Regions from separate parts of the Homo sapiens genome. Here region 1 is linked to region 2. The links are contacts of gene promoters, found by promoter capture Hi-C in human tissues and cell types (Jung and others, 2019). All regions are on one chromosome and are shown on one strand. The core of a region is centred on a gene start or on the middle of the fragment in contact, and the rest is flanking DNA. Distances in the headings are between cores, read along the strand shown. Region 1 has its middle 27 kb from the start of UGT2B11. Region 2 holds the start of UGT2B28 (UDP glucuronosyltransferase family 2 member B28).

What was found. Contacts are between HindIII fragments. The study calls those that stand out against the background at their distance.
Region 1: a fragment that was not itself captured here is called in contact with the fragment with the promoter of UGT2B28 in region 2 in 2 of the 25 tissues and cell types used here (heart left ventricle and mesenchymal stem cells).

What each region holds. Positions count from the first base shown.
Region 1 is chr4:69,239,939-69,243,719 of GRCh38, reverse strand. It overlaps the pseudogene LOC100533845. Among named protein-coding and RNA genes, the nearest start is that of UGT2B11, 27 kb to the right of the region's middle. The HindIII fragment of the contact is 4,183 bases long and covers 259-3,781 here.
Region 2 is chr4:69,278,207-69,282,003 of GRCh38, reverse strand. UGT2B28 (UDP glucuronosyltransferase family 2 member B28) reads right to left here and starts at 1,529. Exons shown (of 6, transcript NM_053039.2): 1 at 783-1,529. The coding sequence starts at 1,503. The HindIII fragment of the contact is 10,884 bases long and covers 212-3,797 here.

The DNA of each region.
Region 1 (3,781 bases), core at 1,101-3,600, 39 kb after region 2:
AAAGAGGACTTTCTGAAGATTTTTTTTTGAAATTTTTGATGAGAGAGAAAAGAACGATCAGCATCTTGTTTCAATAGAAATGGTATAACATTCAAAGTAACAATAAATAATTCTCAAAAATATGAGATGTAGATTTGGGCTATTTGGAGGAAAAACAAAATATAATCTCCTTGTTAATGATGATCATTTGTAGGTTTATTACTGGTATTAAGGAAGTAGGTTACCTTACACTTAGAACAAATCTACTTTCTTTATGAAGAACAGCTACAACATTTTCTATAATAAAAACTCATTAACCTGCATATATGTGTCATAGACGATGTATGGCAATTTTTAAAAATATTTATTTTGATAATTAAAAATAAAACAAGAATCTCTTACCTAATGCCTTACTCTAAAACTCTTCCCAAAAATGATGGTCATAATCCTGAATCCAGAAGTGGAAGAAAACTGAAAGCATTGGATTTTTCAATCTTTCCTGAAAGGTCATTCTGTCTGTTAGTCCTGTCATAGGCACAGGTACATAGGAAAGTGGAGCTGGAAGTTTCCCACAGCTTTGTTCCATATTGCCTCTTAGAGAAGTTCTAAGTGTGAGCACAAAAGGGACTGCAAGCAACTCAGCCATCAGGTCTCCACGGGGAATCACAGGGTCTATGAGTGCTACATCGTAGTTGGTTTCCTGTAGCTTCTTCATAAGTGTCTGATTGTAGATAATGCTCTCACACATCATTTTTGAAGTTCCTCATTTCAACAAAAAACATTTAATTTTATGACTGATTGCCACGCTGGTAAGCCTGGGAAGACATTCAGAGCTAGGTCAACAAATATTTCATTTTCTTCTGTTTTATCCTATGGCATATGGACCACCTCAAATTTCAGTGCAGAAGGCTTCCTGTAATCAATTAACAAAGACTTTGAGTGAGTCAATACTGTTACCTCATGGCTCCTCACTATGATCTCCTCTAGAATGACCTTGACATTAAGCCAATGGCTCATGTCACAGGGCCACACCAGGACCTTCTCCCAGAATCCACAGCCATCACAGAAGAGTTGCAGGAGCAGAAATACCAAAGCTGACTTCTTGGGCCTCATGATGACATTTCCCTCACACAATGATCTGCAATAGTTTTGTAGTTACTAAGCATGAAATTGAAATGACAATATAAGCACAGAAGTTAAAAATTAATATTTTAAGAGTAAATAAACTTCATTGGTTGGTTGCCAGCTTCACATTTATTGAAGATATCAAAAAGAAATGCAATGTTGCAATGTATCAGGGAAAATTTGTTCCAACCTTCTAGAGCTTAGAAATAAAACACATAAAGATACTTTTATTATCTGGATTGATGATAAAGAAATTTTTTTTAAATTCTTTAGATTTAATAATTCATGTGCAGAAACATATGCACACAACCGCACTTACATTCATTCCACACTAAATCCAAGGTGCCAGATTGTTTAGAAGAACTCATGTTTCACATCCTTTGCTCACAAGGACAATACAAAGAATTACTGGGAATACACTTGGAGACATAGGTAACTATTTTTATTAATTTTATATAATAAGTGCAAAGTGTTCAGTATTTCAGAGGAGAAAAATGCACAATTGCTTTAATATCTGATAATTAATAAAAGCTTTAGTAAGACATTTGACTTAGGAGGTGAGATGAAAGCTTCATTAGGATTTATTGTTGTCAAAGGAAGCATTTCACAATCAATAGAAGCATGACGAAAGTATAGGATATTTAAAAGTCATTCTAGTGAGAAGTGACCACAGAGAAAGTTCAGGGCAGGATGTTACAGAACAAAGTCAGTTTGAAATAGGAGAAATTAGTTTTAAATAAACAATTATTAGTTTGAATGATAATTTATGGGCAAATTATTATTTACTCAAGTTTTAAAGGACAGTCGCAAGATCAAGCTTTTCTTTAGCAAGAAATTCTTGCATCTCAACATAGAGTGATATGTAAAGATAAGAGTTTAAAAACAGGGAAAATGATAAAAATTGTATATTAGTTACTGAGACATGTCAACCTTATGGAATAAAACATAAATTGTTAATAGTAAATGTGAGAAATTAATTTGAAATTTGTATTTACTGATAATATCTGAGACAGGAAAAAATGTATAGGAGAAAATACACGGTTTTGGTTTCTGTGTTAATAAGCAGAAGGCTAATAATGACATTAGGTAAAATATTATCATTATGTTCTAATTATTCAACAACTCTATGTAGATGTAAACCAAAAATAAAATTTTAAGCATCCCCAACCACCTAAATGGACCCTTACTCTCAGCAAAGAGCATTTCAAACTTAATCTGAAAAACTGGTTCAGACAATGATGGGAAGTGGGGTGGTGGGATAGGACATGCCTCATTATACCCTCCTCCCTTTTTGAATTCAGGAAAATCTTACAAGCACTACCATCAACACAGACCTTAAAGACCTTAAAGACAATAGAACAGACTCATTACATTTGATAAGAAACATTTACAATCTATATTCTCTCAAGCCTGTTGCCTGACCGCTTTATCTGCATGATAAAACCTTGGTATTCACAGCCCCTTATCTTAACCTAGACATTCTTGTCTATTAATTCTATATCTTTAGACAACAATATAACTCAACCAATTGCCAATAGAAAATCCTCGAATTAGCCTATGACCTGGAAACCCCTGCTCTCAGTTGTCCTGCCTATTCAGACCAAGTCAATGTATAACTTACATGTATTGATTGATGACTAATATCTCTGTAAATTGTATAAAACTAAGCTGTAGCCTGAGCGCTATGGGGAAATGTTCTTAGGATCTCCTGAGGGTTATGTCGCAGGCCATCATTGACTCATATTTGGCTCAGAATAAAACTCTTTAAATATTTTAAAATGTTTGACTCTTTTCATCATAACAACTTGACATTTGAACATGTGGGGCCTCAGACAAAACTCAGGACACCATAAAACGTGCCTGAACTTGAAGCTAAGGTAGCAACAGAGGCCCACTGAATGCCTCTCCAATTTTGAGCTTCTTCTCCAGTGGGACTGGTAAGTCCTCTTGAGCTCTGGACCTCCCTTTGGTTGATAGTCTTTGGTTTATTCTGAATTTTTTTTTCTCCTGGGAGGTTGTCTTTTAGAATCTTAATTATAGTTCAGGAGTACATTCTAAAGGGTCCTCTCCATTGCCTTTTCTCCCAAAGATAAGCTCAAATGGCTTGTCTGCACATTTGCTTGAGGAACTGAACTATTATTTTTGTAGATCAGTGAGAGATGAGAGACTGACCTCCTCAGCAATGAAGAGAAAGGACGTTTTGCTCCTCCAAGCCAAAGGGGCCTATTTGGAATGTCTAGGGTGTTAAACCTTCACCATACAGAGTCGCCAAACAGAGAACCCCCCCAACACAATGAGTTTAAAAAATTCATCTAGCAAATGTATGTAAGAGCTGATCACTCAGTGTTTGGAGCCCTCATGGAGGTGATACACATATGGAGAGAGAAATTAATGAGAAGAGAAAATAAGGAACCAGTTAGGCAGATAGTTAGGGCAAGGTTCTTGGTAGAAGCCCTCCCCCAAAAATAACAGTCTGGAGGAAATCAAACTGCAAGCGCAGGTAAGGAAGCAAAGTCCAAAAATAAGTCTGGAGGAAATCAAACTGCAAGCACAGGTAAGGAAGCAAAGTCCAAAGCCTTTGTCTTCTGTGCAACCAGTGAGCTCTGCCTATACACGATGGCCTTCAGTGAGCACATTCCTTTTCTTTTTGGTCATACTCAGATAAAGGAACTTGCAC
Region 2 (3,797 bases), core at 280-2,779:
GATTTGAGCTAAGATCTTAATAATATTATCATTTAAGTAAATATATTTGTAAATTATAGCTAGAAATTTTTGAGAAATTATTGAAATAGAGATCTGTACTCAACCTTAATCTGTCTCATATTTTTAAATAAAGAGACATAGTTTCAAATAAACTATATAGATATAACAACCTTCACACTTCAACAAGATAATTGGACTTTAAATGAATGAATTCCAATTCTTTAGTGAAGGAGTATAGAAACATTAGAAACTTCAAATTACCCTGATTAACTTTTGCATCTGAGATGTGGACATTATCTCTCTCTACTGTGAAGGAAACCTTCTGGAAACATGGGAATATCTTTTAATACCTAAAAAAGAAAACTGAGGTTTACAAGGAAAACTTTCTGCAGTTATATAGATAGTTGTAGAAAAATGTGTAATTACTCATTCTAAATCTATGCATTCAGTAAGATGTTACTTGATGGATTTCACTGTTTTTAAGATCTAAAACATTATATAGTAAAACAGATGTGTAATTGCTTAAAGTCTTAGGTGTACTAATATATAGGTTTATGATTTCCTGGGGTGTTCTGTATGAGTGATGGCCACAGGGTTTTAACAGACCTTATAATTTAAGCTTTTCTATAATGTTTGTGAGATTGATAGATCATCTTGTATTTTCATTTCATAAATTCACTTACCAAAAACTCCACTTCCCTGACTTTATGGCTTTATATAAGCTCTGCTTCAAAGACACAAATAAGTTAGATCTTCAAGTTCCCGATTAAACAAATTCTTACCTAAAACTTCACTGTAAAACTGATCCCACTTCTTCATATCACACATTTGGAACCAAAAGTCAAAATAAAGCACATAGATCATGTTTTTTACCCTCTCCATGAAAGTCATTTGATCACTTAATTTTGACATAACAACAGGTATGTAGGAAGGAGGGAAAATCAGTCCTCCACTGTGCCTTTCAATTGTGTAGCCAGGAGTGAAGCAGAGACTGTACACAAACGGTATGTTAAGTAGCGCAGCCAGCAGCTCACCACAAGGAAAAAAAGCATCTGCAAAAATGATGTCAAATCTTGACTCTTGTAGTTTTTTCATAACTTTCTTATTTGAAACTACATCTTTACAGAAGTTTCTAAATATGTCATGAAATTCCCACAGGATTTCTTGTTCTTGTGAAAAATATAACCAAAAGCTATCTTTTTGAATGTCTGACCATCTCTTAACCTGTTGCATGATGATATTCTCAAATTCAGTTTTAGTTAAAGATGTAGGATAAACTTCGAGTTTAAGAGTGAATGCGTCATTGGGATCAAAAAGAATGGAAGCTGAAGATGCCAGTACAGTCACCTCATGACCTCTCTGAACAAGCTCTTTCAGGATTGTCTTCATATTCATCCAATGGCTGTATTCACCGGTCCACACCAGCACCTTTCCACAACTCCCAGAGCTAAAGTAACAACCGAGATGTATCAGCAGAAGAACTGAAGTCCACTTCAGAGCCATCCTGGTGCAATGCAATCATTCTTTTCAAGTCACTGTTTCTTTCTCATACTTATATACAGAGATAAATCAATCAAGTTAAAACATAACTCCTTCAATCCAAAGTAAATATATTATAGGAGCATCCTGAGTACATGGATGACAAGGAGACAAAGTTTGATTACTTCATATTTACTCAAGGATGTTTGATGTTTCTTTTATGTTTATATTCGCTGTCATCCACCTAAGATTAATGACCTTGCAAGTACCCTGTTTTATGTAACCTATTTTATAATAGTGTCAAGAATAGTGGCAAGTGAGAGAGTCCTGCAGGGCCCTTGACACAGAGTAAGAGATGAAGTGATCGTACAATGCAAATAGCGTTTTTGAATATCGTGGTTCAAGGAATATCTTGTAAAACTTTGTTGAAGTATAATTCAAATACCATATGATTCATCAATTAGTATTTAAAATTAAGTATTTCCTTGTAAATTCACAGACTTGTGCATCCAACATAACAATCAGTTTTATCTAAAAAAACAAAAAACTCCTGTGTATTAGCTCTCATCTCCCCACCAAATTTCTGCACCCGCCCTGCACTGGGCAACCAGTAATCTAATTTCTGCCTCTAGAAATACACCTATTCAGGCTCTTTCTAAAAGTAAATGGAACGATATAATATGTGGTCTTTTGTGGCTGGCTTCCTTTACTTAGTTTAATGTTTTTAAAGGACCATCCATAGAATAGTGTAAATAAGGACTTCATTTTTATTGCCAAATAGTTATCAGATGCTATTTATAAACACAATTTATTTATTCATTTAATAGTTGATGGATACTGATTTACTTCCACTTTTGGTCATTATGAATAGCATTGTTTAACATTGATGTGCATGATTTCTGTGGACATGTTTTTATTTTTCTTGGGGATATGCCTAGAAAGGCAATTACTGAATTATGTGGTAAATGTAAGTGTAATCTTTTGAGGAATTGCTAGACTTTTTCAGAGTGGGTGAATAATTTTCTATTCTCACCAACAATGTATGAGGGTTTCAATGTCTCCACAACCTTGCCCACCCTTGTCTTTCACATAACCAAAAAGGTTATTTTTTACTTCAATTTATAAACACACTCTAACAGACCCCAAAAAGGAAGGTTTCCTTCCACATATTGGAGGGAAAAGTGAATAAATTAAGTACTAACTTACCTAATACTTCACTGTACAACTGATCCCACTTCTTTCTGTTAAAAATCTCAAATGCAAAGTCAAAATGAAGAAAATGCAACAGATTTTTCACCTTTCTACAAATGTATATTGGTACTAAGTTCTGATATGACAACAGTTACATCAGAAGGAGGTAATGTAAGTCCTCCACAGAGTTCTTGGTACATACTGCCAGTTGTAAATTGATGATTGTAGACCAAATGTATAACAAATGTTTAACAGATTAAGGTGTTCAGATAGCAGCTCACTACTGAGAACTTACATTTGCAAGAATGATATAAATTCTGGAATCTTGTTGTTCCTCATAATTTTCTTGTTCAAAACAGCATACTCACAGAGCTTTTGAACAGTATCAGAACATTCATGATATGTAGTTTTTGCATCTTTGAATCATATGTCAACAATGTACTCTTTGGAAACTTATATGTCCACATCTTGATCAACTTCATAAAAATGAAATCAAGTTCCTTCTGAGTAAAAGATGTGGGATAAACCTCAAATTTAACAGCAGATTGTTGGAATCAATGAGGATGGAAGCTGAAGGTGACAAGCACAGTTACCTCACGGTGTTCTGAGCAAGTTCATCAACTATCAACATTAAATTGATACAAAGACTATTTCATCGGCCACACCAGCACATTCTAACAGGACTCAGAGCTAGAATACAACTGTCAGCATAAGAAACAAAAAAGTCCATTTCTTAGACAACTTGTTAAAATGCTATCTTTCTTTATAACTTTCTCTAACTTGGTACATATCAATATCAATCAATGTCACAATGATTTAAGTATTGACAATAGAGGTTTTGGAAAGCAAGTGAATAAAGAAAAGGATGAATGATTTTGTGTTTGCATGTGTGAATAATAAATTTCATTCTTATTGTAAATGTGGCTGTCTCCAGAACAAGAGATAATTTAATTGTATATGAAGAGTTTCTAGTATAAGAAAGCAGCATTGTGTCAACAATGAGGCAGGGGTGTGATCTATTCTTATTTATCTTAACATTCTCAAATAGACCGTCTTCATTTTCTCTATGTATTCTCACAATTATGATATTAGCATCATTTTGTGTTTCTTGACATTGTTTTTCTGAC